2 separate regions of the Homo sapiens genome follow, and region 1 is linked to region 2. The links are contacts of gene promoters, found by promoter capture Hi-C in blood cells and fetal thymus (Javierre and others, 2016). All regions are on one chromosome and are shown on one strand. Each heading gives the region's core, a stretch centred on a gene start or on the middle of the fragment in contact. The rest is flanking DNA. Distances are from core to core; before and after follow the strand shown.

Evidence for each region. The method cuts DNA at HindIII sites, captures the fragments that hold promoters and counts their contacts. A CHiCAGO score of 5 or more calls a contact.
Region 1: a fragment that was not itself captured here is called in contact with the fragment with the promoter of LYPLA2 in region 2 in 1 of 17 cell types (fetal thymus); the score reaches 5.5 in fetal thymus.

Annotation. Positions count from the first base shown.
Region 1 is chr1:23,337,001-23,342,653 of GRCh38, forward strand. It overlaps HNRNPR (heterogeneous nuclear ribonucleoprotein R), which reads right to left. Exons shown (of 11, transcript NM_005826.5): 2 at 3,852-4,017; 3 at 1,490-1,608; 4 at 754-861. The coding sequence starts at 4,008. Among named protein-coding and RNA genes, the nearest start is that of HNRNPR, 4.5 kb to the right of the region's middle. The HindIII fragment of the contact is 2,479 bases long and covers 3,006-5,484 here.
Region 2 is chr1:23,786,803-23,792,718 of GRCh38, forward strand. It overlaps LYPLA2 (lysophospholipase 2), which reads left to right and starts at 4,343. Exons shown (of 10, transcript NM_007260.3): 1 at 4,343-4,448; 2 at 5,855-5,916. The coding sequence starts at 5,881. LOC105376860 (a long non-coding RNA gene) reads right to left here. Exons shown (of 2, transcript XR_947067.3): 2 at 3,812-3,988. PITHD1 (PITH domain containing 1) reads left to right here. Exons shown (of 6, transcript NM_020362.5): 6 at 473-1,430. The coding sequence ends at 574. RefSeq lists a silencer at 4,521-4,580. The HindIII fragment of the contact is 1,905 bases long and covers 2,803-4,707 here.

The DNA of each region.
Region 1 (5,653 bases), core at 2,995-5,494, 450 kb before region 2:
AATAACTCTGTAAGGTAGTCACTATTACTATCCCCATTTTATAAATAAAGAAACTGAGGTAACTGAATATTCAAAAGGAGGAAAGCAGTTATAACAACTTTTTATCAAGTTATAACCTTTTTATCAAGAGAAAAGAAACAAAGTGGCTGGAAAATAACTGAACCAAGAGACATTACTGGATCAATCCAAGAAACTACCAGCGAAGCATCAATAAATATACGTCATTCATGGCCACAAAAGAGGGAATGAGGAAGAGTATGAATTAGGGCTTTTCATTAAACATGCAATTGAGTGTCGATCCCCAAAATTATCCTTCTTATGTAATTCCTCTAAATTATTTCATTTCTAAACACTAGTTTTGAAAAGTGAAACTTTCAGCTGGGCGTGGTGGCTCACGTCTGTAATCCCAGCACTTTGAAGGCCGAGGTGGGCGGATCACAAGGTCAGGAGATCGAGACCAATCTGGCCAACACAGTGAAACCCTATCTTTCCTAAAAATACAAATAATTAGCTGGGTGTGGTGGTGCATGGCTGTAATCCCAGCTACTTGGGAGGCTGAGGCAGGAGAATGGCATGAACTTGGGAGGTGGAGCTTGCAGTGATCCAAGACTGCGCCGCTACTCCAGCCTGGGCGACAGAGCAAGACTCCGTCTCAAAAAAAAAAAAAGTGAAACTTTCTAGGAAACATGGAAAGAGGCATTTGACCTCATCATTAAATGCAATTTCATTACAACTACCCAAGTCAAGTTTTACCTTGATCTTCGCTTCATCAGGTCCCTTTGTGGACTCTTGCACCTTGCTCCCCTGTTTCTCTCTCTGCCTGTAGGTCTTCATAACTCCACATAAAAATGCACTTTTGTTCTAGAACAGACAAGTAATTCAATAAAAAGAATCACCAAAAATATCTGAAGGGTCAGATACATAATTAAATTTAAATTTCAGAAAACCAGGATTTTAACAAAAGATTTACTGATTCATTCAACAAGTATTTGCCGAGTGGTTACTATGTGCCAGAGATTGGAGCAGACAGCAGTAAGGCAGTATAGACCTCAGGGAGCTTACCTTCTACCCTGGGAAAACACAGTCTTCCACTTGTTGATATGTGACTGTATCTAGACTGTCTTTGCCAGATGTCGGAAACTATTCCTCCCACCTACATTTTCCTCCAAGATAATAAAACAGGATCAAATAACCCCCAAATGTTAAAAAGCTGAGTAACATGTAAAAACCTATAGTAACAACCATCAAAACTTGGCTTTAATTTTAAGTTTTTAAAATAACTTACTGCACAAGGGGGTGGGAGAAAACTTTTGCTTTATACTTGGGCTTCTGAAACTCTGCCACAAGCAGTTTTTTTCCTTTAAACTAATTTTTTAAAAGAAGAGGTAGTCACAAACAAAAAATACCACTTCTCCATAGGAAAAAAAGTAATAGTAAAATAATTTCAGATTACTAATTGTTCAAAGACATTTCTGAGTAACGACCTTACCTGAACATGTGATAAGTCACTTTCCTTGAACTGCTGTAGTACAGACAGAGCTCCTTCTTCATTAAATTCCCTGAGAGCATCAATTGCTCTTTCATCAAGATCGACATAAGCTACCAATCCTAAAAATTAAATTGAAAGGGGTAACGTTATTGCAACAAAAGGGGTAATCTAAGCTCTACTGACGTTTAATCAAGAATTGTTACATTCAATATGATCACTAACAAACTGTATTTTCATTTAACTATATGCATATACGCAGCTATCCAAATACTACATAGAAAGGTCCAGGACAAATATGAAAATAAAGATAAAATGTCAACAACCAAAAACATGAATTTCAATCTCCATATCCACAAACCTCCCCCGCCAAATCCTAACATCCATTTCCCACTCCCCCAAAGGTATAAGTCTTGAAAGTTAAATCTGATGTACATACTGTATTACAGATTATGCATTAATACAACAAATTTTGGTTTATATTAGAGTGATAAGAATACATTGCGTTTTCCAAGGATAAACCTTCAAATTACAGACGGTTACAGTTGATGCTAACCACCTAAGAGGTGGAGGAAAATCTGAAAACAAATTTTACTAAGTAATTCTTTCCACTCTCCAAAAAGTGTCAAAAGGCTTTCCCTCCTGAACACCAAAGATAAACTGAAATGCATTTGTTTATCTGAGCATCCACTTTGCTGCAGTCAGAATGTGGAAAGGCATAATTTTAAACTTCTACAAATGCAAGTGCAGCTTGATTAATCAATTCTGAAAGTCATACTTTAAGGCATTCTTTGTTCTTCTGAAGTGACAAGCTGAGATTTAAAAGATGCTGTGGCATTCACATTGACTGTCAAGAACGACAATCATTTTCAAATGGCAATAAAGACTTTATGGTCTTACAAGTAAACTTGACAGAAAATATATACACTGCATTTCATATATGTAAGTATATTCAACTGCACACAGAACATCTACTAAGTTTAAAATATAATTTCTTAAGTCTGTTAAGTTTGTGTCATATTTACATATGGAATATATTTCAGAATTGATCCAACGTAAAATGCAAGTATTTCGTAGATTAAAACCCCCAAGTTCATATGAACATGAAAAGTGACTCCATTTTGATAAAGCTAAAAAGAACTTTATTCCATATAGTAAATTTTAAATAAATGTAATGCCACTTCCAAAGTTACTTTTTAAAAAAGTTGCCATGATTTGTTTCAAAAGCTCGAAATGAGCATGTGTAAATAACTGGAGCTGCCTCACTTGAATATTCCATACCACCACCCGAAGCCACAACTCAGGACACCCATCAATCCATTTTGTCAAACCAAGTCTACGCCCAAACCATCAGCCTCTTATCAATAACAAAACACTCTACAAGAGAGCATCTCTAAGCAGATCACTGCCAATTCTCTATGGCAGAATGTCACAGAAAGTTCCTGAGGACTGATTTTCAAATGCGACCATGACCCAGGAGTCATTTTTATAAGTCATTTTAATGTCTAAAATTATGCTAAGCTTCCCAGATTTAAAAATTTTTTAAGGACAAAAAAAAAAAAACAGCTATTTGCTACTACTGTACTTAAGACACATTTGTGAGTGAGACAATTCAATTCTCTCTCAGAATCTGAATAGGCACACACAACACAGAGGAAGAAAGTTTCCATCTATGTCCCCAAAGGAGGAGGACACATTCATTTATGAACAACGCTCCCTAAGGGTAAATATTTCTCTCCCTCTTTAAAACTTCAAACCACTTACAACCAACTATATTAAGATGTTCAAATTTGCTTAAGCACTTAACCATGGCACTTCTGGATTAAAAAAAAAAAAAAGAAGCAGCTGTTACAACCAAACACTTCCAAATTACGGAGAGATGTGGATTTCTATTAGAAACTAGACAAGCCACAAACTCTCAAGGAGTCTGACATTTATTATGGTTTCAGACGATACAGCTATCCTCTTGTTATGCCACCTAATCAGACCTAAGCTGATTTAACAATCACTTTAAGAAGGTAAAAGTAGAAAAGCAAAAGCAAAATGATGACTGATTTTGATTAAGAAAAAAATGTAAAATTTGGTATGCAGAAACATACATTTTTATGGGTGGTAAATCTAAGACAAATCGATGTGCTGTTCTGAAACAACTAAGACTGCATATTCAACACTAAGAAGGCTTCAAAATAATGAAATAAGAGTATCAAAGTCAAACCCAATATGCCTTCAATGAAGGGAAAGTAACAAACATTCAGCTCTACAGATCAGAAACAATAAGTATTATTTAACCTTAAAAAACTATAAAATTCAAAGTGGTTTGCCCTCACTTTCATAACCAGTCAGAAACAAGAAATGCATATTATACCTGTCTGAAATATTTCATCAAGTCTTTCTGCCACCTTCTGTGGGAGGCCTGCCTCTATCAGTGTCTTGTAGTGTTCTGTGTGAGTTACACTGGAAGTATCCATTGGTTCTTCCTCTTCTTTTAACTGTACCGCATTACCATTCACCTGATTAGCCATTTTATTATGCTGCTGGAAAAAATTCAGGAGCTATATTACATTAAGCCAGAAATAACTAGTTTGTAGGACAATGCATGATTTATCTAAACTAATTTGTATACATGCTGCTAATAACCTCTATCAAAATAATAATTTATTCCTCCTGTGATGTATCTGACCTAAATTGGCAATAATAATCCTGTAAAACCATAGAAAATGTACATGGAAGCATTAGATCTTTAAGGAACTTCATGTACACCGGGTAAGATAAAGGCTTTAATTTACTGAAGGTAGAATTGCTGATTAACAAAAGCAGCTGTTCTGTCCTGGTGAAAAGATCAAAATCACTACAAAATCCTTTACTAAAAAGCCCCTCAGCTCTCGGGTCTTACACAGTTTTAAAAAGTTTTGTTTTAAAAACAGAATGAACACCCACAGACCACTTAATCAAGATTTAAGGACTTTCAAATTTTCCTGGCTCTGCTTCAAATACAGTATCGGTGTGAAATAAGTGCCCTGTTTTCTCTAGTTCAACATGCTGGTGGTTTGGGTTTTCTCCACCTAACAATACAAAACGAAAACAAAAAAAAACCAACTTGACATTAATTTTTGTTCTAAGATTAATTCGCTATTCCCACAGATTTAAAAGAAAAAATGACCAAGTTTAAAAGCGAAACAATTGTTTTCAGTCCAAATAAAATACTAAGTGAGCTATAGTTTAGGTTGCTTCTTAAAAAAAAAGAGTACATGTTGAAATTTTCATATCAGTAAAATAAAGATGTAAAAACATACTGAAGAATGGACAACTTCTTCCAAATATTTCAAAAACCGTTACCTAATTAGGCTAAACTTCAGCCAGATTTCTCAGATTAACCTATCAAAAATAATTTTGTACATTCAGCCTGTAGGTAATGCTGAAATGGACTGACTCCCTGAAGAGAGAGAGTAAACAATAAACCATACAAGGCCAGTCTGTGTACTGCCTCAAAAGACAGGGAATTAAAGTGCATTTGTCTGTGGTGAAATTACAATGTGATGAAGATAATAGGCAGCAGAACAAGACATTGCAACACATACTAAATAAAAGACATAAAGGTGGATCTCAAGAAAAAGCCTACTTTTCTTGATGAAACTCAAGATACCTAGTCATCTATAAAGAAAATACAAGTCTCCTACAAAGTACTAAGACACATAAGATAACCACACTTCCCGACAGCTTATCGAACATTGTGCAAATGCACCAGGTGCAGTTTTCTGGCTTAAAACAACTTCTTTTCATTTCAAAGTCCACTGATACTTAGTTGAAGTTAACGAAAGAGGGAGGAAGACCAAGAGGGGAAGGAGGTAATAGAGAGTAGGAAGAAGAAGAAAATGCAAAGGATTACTCTGAAAATGAGATAAACATGACTCCTCACAATTACAAAACACTATTAAGACTCGATAGCCCTTAATAGACGCAGACTGTGGTTAAATTCTGGGTGGATGTTTCTCAAGACAAGCTTCAAATTCTGATGAACTAGCAAAAACGGAAACATTCGAAATGTCACACTTTTGATCAAGAAACTGTATTGTGTGAGATGAATACGTTTACTGATTAACACGACCTATTTCTATAAAGATGCATCCTAAAACACAAAATCTCCTTGCGAACATAAGGTTCTGTTTT
Region 2 (5,916 bases), core at 3,093-5,592:
GCTGGTCTCGAACTCCTGACCTCAGGTGATCTGCCCATCTCAGCCTCCCAAAATGTTGGGATTACAGGTGTGAGCCACCTTGCCCAGCCTGAAATTGTCATTTATATTAATTCACAGTTTTCTACTTTCAAATGCTTTCATTGAGTATTTTTGATAATCTTTTCTATTCATGAACCAGGGATAAGATAATACCATAGACAAGTTCCTATTCTCATGGTACCCCCATTATAGTAGGGAGACTGAATCTTCAAAGTTACAGGGTGAATCAATGATAATGATCTTTGCAGCTTTCTGGAGTTAAAAAGTATCAAAATTGGGAGATATTAGATGATGACATCTAAGTATTAAAATAAGGAGATATTAAATGATGACTCCTAGAAATGAACCTGAATAAGGACTACCGCAATGTGTGTGGTGTGGGAAAGGACAGTTCTTTTAATGGCTGGCTGACCCAGCCTCAATTTTCTTGCAGCTTCGCCGACACGAGGTGACCATCTGCAATTACGAAGCATCTGCCAACCCAGCAGACCATAGGGTCCATCAGGTTACCCCACAGACACACTTTATTTCCTAAGGGCTGGCCAAGGCTCCCATAGAGGCGCTGTGTCAGTGAAGATGTACGACTACCTGTTGGGAAGGACAAAGGGATGAGGCTCCAGAGAGAGTTGGCTGCCACAGCCTCTGCCAAGCTTTGTCTTTGGGGCTTGCTGCAGAAACCTGGCCTACGGAAGATACGACACCACTGGGAGGGTTGTGTAGGTGCCAGGGGACCATCGTGGTTCTCTAGGGCGCTGTGGAAATTGGGTCTTGGGCTGGGTGGCATCTGGCAGTCATGGGTAACACTTGCTTTTCCAGTTAATGTGGCCATGTGATTCCAAGTGTCATGTTGCTTTGTGGCAAGATTGTTGTGTGACTTGTTTTTTTGTTTTTGTTTTTGTTTTTTTAAAGGAAACTATTTGTGGGCTATAGGAAACTTTCTGATGCCTCCGGATTGTGTTAGTAGTAGCCATCAGGAGGGTCTCCAACTAAAACACTTGTTCCTGCTTGCTCCTTTCCCCTCTCATTGTTCAGCATTCTTGTCAAGTTGCCCAGCTTGGAGTTGTCTGTCACGCACATGTGTCCTGTGGTTATAGCTAGAAGGACAGGAGTCTCCTGCTGATGCGTGATAGCTTAAGCTTGGGGAGAAGGTCTTTTCCACTGCCTAGCTAAGCAGTCTGGGGAGAGCATGGGGATCATTTCTATGTGTGTGGGTAATCTGGTCAGTAAGATTGAGACTTAGTTAAGATTCCCCTTGGAAATTCCTTAATGTTTATTAGCTTCTAACTAGTGTTGTAAGTCCGATGCCAGAATTTGGAGATTTGAGTTCTTCTTTTCATGGCTTTTATTCACTGTGACTAATAAGCTTCCTAATAAATCCTTGCCAGACTTAATGTTTGTATTTTCTTTTGAGTTCTTGATAGCCACTGATGCAACTTTCATTTCATGGGGAACTGTACTGAACTTTGAAATTTTTTGTTGTTGTTTTGGACTAGGTAGATTATAGGAAGTGCCACAATTAAATCAAGACTGGAGCCGGGCGCGGTGGCTCACGCCTGTAATCCCAGCACTTTGGGAGGCCGAGGTGGGCGGATCACGAGGTCAGGAGATCGAGACCACGGTGAAACCGTCTCTACCAAAAATACAAAAAATTAGCCGGGTGCGGTGGCGGGAGCCTGTAGTCCCAGCTACTCAGGAGGCTGAGGCAGGAGAATGGCATGAACCCGGGAAGCGGAGCTTGCAGTGACCTGAGATTGCACCACTGCACTCCAGCCTGGGTGACAGAGTGAGACTCCGTCTCAAAAAAAAAAAAAAAAAAAATCAAGACTGGATCAGTTTCTCCAGGAATGGTCAAGCTTAATTTTGTACAGTAGGCCAAAAACACTCCTACACCCATATATAGTAAAGAAGAAGGTGGGGTTGAAAACCTGTATTTCACAGAAATTAACTGGGCATGGTGGCGTGCACCTGTAGTCCCAGCCACTTGGGAGGCTGAGGTGGGAGGATCACTGGAGCCCAGGAGGTCGAGGCTACAGTAAGCCATGATTGCGCCACTGCACCCCAGCCTGAGGCAACAGAGTGAGACCTTGTCTCAAAACAACAACAACAAAACCCTATATTTCATTTTGCACAAAAGGAAGTGATTTGTAGAATGACATTTACAAAAATAAGGGAGAACAGATTTTGGAGCTCATCAGAAGAAATGAGGGTGAGGAAAGTAATTGAGCAGCTCATGTGGTCTCCAGGTAGACCAAAGACTTTGGACTTAAATTTTGAAAGTCAGTTTAGCAATTGAAGAGAATGTAAGTATCTAAAAAGGGGATTTGATATGGTCAGTATTCTCTCCCTTGCAGAAAACAGGAACAGGTAATAAAGGGAATTAGTGTTGAATCTGATCCTTTTGGGAGAATTCCTCTGAGGCATTGGCCCATGCTGTTGTTTGGAGGATATAGCCACTGTTTCTCCAGCCTGTCCTAGGAAAGGTCTGCTACCACCAAACCTTGTTGGCCCTCAAAATTTCTAAAATGCAGCCTGAAATAAACCAGAATGCAAATGCTGTTCTTGAAAAGCATGAAGGGTCCTATTCACTCAGCCACAGCCTCTTTATTTCAGTTGGATCATTTTTTGGAGTTAAAAGAAGGGCTATGTTTAAATTTGGAGTAGGGGGAAAAATAAAGTTAAAAATCTTAGAGCAGACTAGCCCTTCACTAATTCCACTAATTAAAGCATTAATCACAGCTCCTGGGACTGAGCCTCTGAATTTGAAGCTTCACTCTGAAGAATTTGTTTTAAGTGTCATGGTGTCTCAGGTGATCGAGGTTGCAGGAGGAACTGTTCATTCTTCCATAAGTGGGGACATTACCCTCCATTTTCTTTTGACATTCAGTCCTGGGTCCTTGGCTTGTGGTGGTCCCATAGGCTCAAAGGTTTCCTGCCCCGAATCCTGGTATTGTAGGCTCCCTGACCTGTTGAGTACTTAGGACCAAAGTGCCTCTGGGCCTGGGGGAAAGTGCTTTGTTGAGCTTCCAACTTTGTACTGTTTTCTTTTTCTTTTCTTTCTTTTTTTTTTTTTTTTTTTTTTGAGACAGAGTCTCGCTTTGTTGCCCAGGCTGGAGTGTAGTGGCACTATCTTGGCTCACTGCAAGCTCCGCCTCCCGGGTTCACGCCATTCTCCTGCCTCAGCCTCCCCCCGAGTAGCTAGGACTACAGGCGCCCGCCACAGCGCCAGGCTAATTTTTTGTATTTTTAGTAGAGACAGGGTTTCACCGTGTTAGCCAGGATGGTCTCGATCTCCTGACCTCGTGATCCGCCCGCCTCAGCCTCCCAAAGTGCTGGGATTACAGGAGTGAGCCACCGCGCCTGGCTGTACTGTTTTCTTTCTGTTCAAAGAAAACACTAGTATAGGTTAGGCTGGGAGAGTGAGTCCTAAGCGGCTGAGGGTCAAGTGTGACTCATTTCCTATTTGCAGATCCCCACACATTCTCAGGGACATGCTCCTTCAACTCAGTTTGCCTGCCTTCTGACTTTTCTGTGGTCCCTGATACCTATTTCCACTTCAGCTTGATGGCAGCGTTTTGTGCACTGTCTGCATGACATTGCTTGTGAAGGGCAGCGCTAACACTGCCAGTGCCTGTCCAGCTCTCCTGATACGGCCTTTGTATTTTTCCTAGGTCCTTTTTTGCGTGATTAACACCTCACGCTGTGATTTTACTGTATAAACCATGTTCACACAACCTCATTTAAGCCTACCAACAAAGCTGTGAAGGAGGCAGGGTGGTTATTACCATTTTATATATCAGGAAGCAGATCCAGAGAGGCAGAATTTAAATGGAATCCCGAGGTTGCTGTTTACATGCCTTCCTTGAGCCTCAGTTTCCCCATCTTCAAGGCTGGAGAACTAGATGATCTGTAAGGTCTCTTCGGTTCAGAGTGTGTCATTCCATTCATGATCCTGGAATAGGGCATGAAAGCCAGTGGCAGACACCCGAGGCCTTAAGAGGTGTGTCCCATGAGGATGGGAAGGTGGTAAAGTTTATGCAAACAATAGTGTGAGGGATGCCTCTCCTTCCGGTCGGCCCTCCTCCAGGAGGCGCATGGGTGGTGGTAGCAAGTGGGAGTCTTGGGTGCCCTGTCTCGAATCTACAAGGTGGGAGCGGGTGAGAACCCAGCGACTGCGCGGCTGAATGACAGGGAGTAGCCCCGCCGCCTCCAACATGGCAGCTTCTATCCAGCGAAGCCGGGTCCCCGCTTCCGGGTTCCGTACTGTCGGCCAGGCTACTTCCGGCAGCGCGATGGCTGGGTTCCCGGGACTCGAACGGAAGTTCCGGCGGGGGCGGCCGAGGGGGAAGAGTGTGTCTGCGGGAGAAAGAGGAGAATCGCCCAAGCGGCCTCGGAAGTCCCAGGGAGTGGAGGTACCCAGCCGGCGGCTGCGGAGGATGGGCGTGTAGGGGGAGGTCGGCCTCGGGAGGGTCCCGGAGAGCGGGGAGGGGGAACCGTGATGGGGGGGATGGGGGTGGGGAGTGAGGTGCGAAGGCGCTGTCCAGTCTTGGGGACTTCGGGAGTGGAGCGGGGCTAGGCAAGGGGGTGTCTGAGTATAAAGAGACAGACTTCAGGGTCGGAAATAGAAGAGCCCATTGTGGGGCGGGGGCTTCCCCAGAGTCAAAGGTACAAAGCTTTATTGTGGGCAGGTGGGAGTCCTGGGTCAGGGTAGAAAATTTCACTGGGTAGGGTGACCTTTGGTCAGAACAGAAGTTCCCATTGTGGGGAGCGGGAGATCCTGGGTCAGGGTGGAAGTTCTCAAGGTGTATAGAGAGAGACAGGTCAGGGGGAAGGCACCCCTCCGAGGAGGGAGCCTGGGCGGGAGGTGCAAGTCCCCACGGTGGAGAAGGAAGGGAATCGCAGCTCAGGGCAGGAGGTGCATTCCCCATGGGAAGAGGAACCCCGGGTCACAGGTGAACGATCCCATTGTGGGGAGCTGCCCTCAGGGGTCAGAGATGGAAGGTGAGGCCAGTTGGGAGGGGTGGGCAGGCACTTGAGGCAGGTAGTGGAAGCTTCCGGCGAGTTTGGAGGACGCCGAGGATGGGGAGGGGCCAGCCAGCCTGACATTCTTTTGTGTGTTTGGGAGTCCCAGAGCGTGGTCAAGCCAGGGCTCGTTTGCAGTCAGTGGCAGCAGCAGCAGGTAGCTCCGTTTAGGGGGGGCGTGGAGCACCAGTTTGGGGGTGGGTGGAGTTCTTACGCTTTCTGGGGACATGGGCAGCCCCCTGGGGGTCTGGGAATGGATGGGCCAGAAACTGCTGTGAAGGCTGGATGGGGGCTGGGTGGGGGGAGGTTGAGATGGGGGTTGGAGGCGGCACTGAGTAGGGGATGGAAGCTCCTTTCCCTGGCACTTTTCTCTCCATTTCCCATAGGGCCCGGAGTTGGGGAGGCAGGGACCCAGGGATGATTGGAGAGGAGGGGGAAGGCACTCACCCCTGAGGAGTTAGAGGGGGAATGAAGCAGGCGTGCCGCTGCCTCCCCTCTGCCCCCTGCCCTACAGTCCCTATGCCCTGCCTCTGCCTGTCTCCAGCAAGCTCAGGTCCTGTGGTTGGGCCAGAACCAGAGACACATGTTCTGGGCCACTAGGGAGGCTGTCTCTGCCTTTCAGCCCTGGAACTGAGGCAGACTTCTTCTCCTGTGCCCTGGGACTTCTTGCTTGACTATTCTTTGTGCCCAGGACAGAACCTGGGTGCTGTGTGGGGCTGATGGCCTGGTGGCCTCTTGGGCCAGGAGTGTGTCCTGTGCCTGGTTTTGCTCTTGACCGCCGCCCCGATGTATGCAGGCCCCCGCCGTGGAGCCGTGTGGTGTATGTGTGGTAACACCATGTCTGTGCCCCTGCTCACC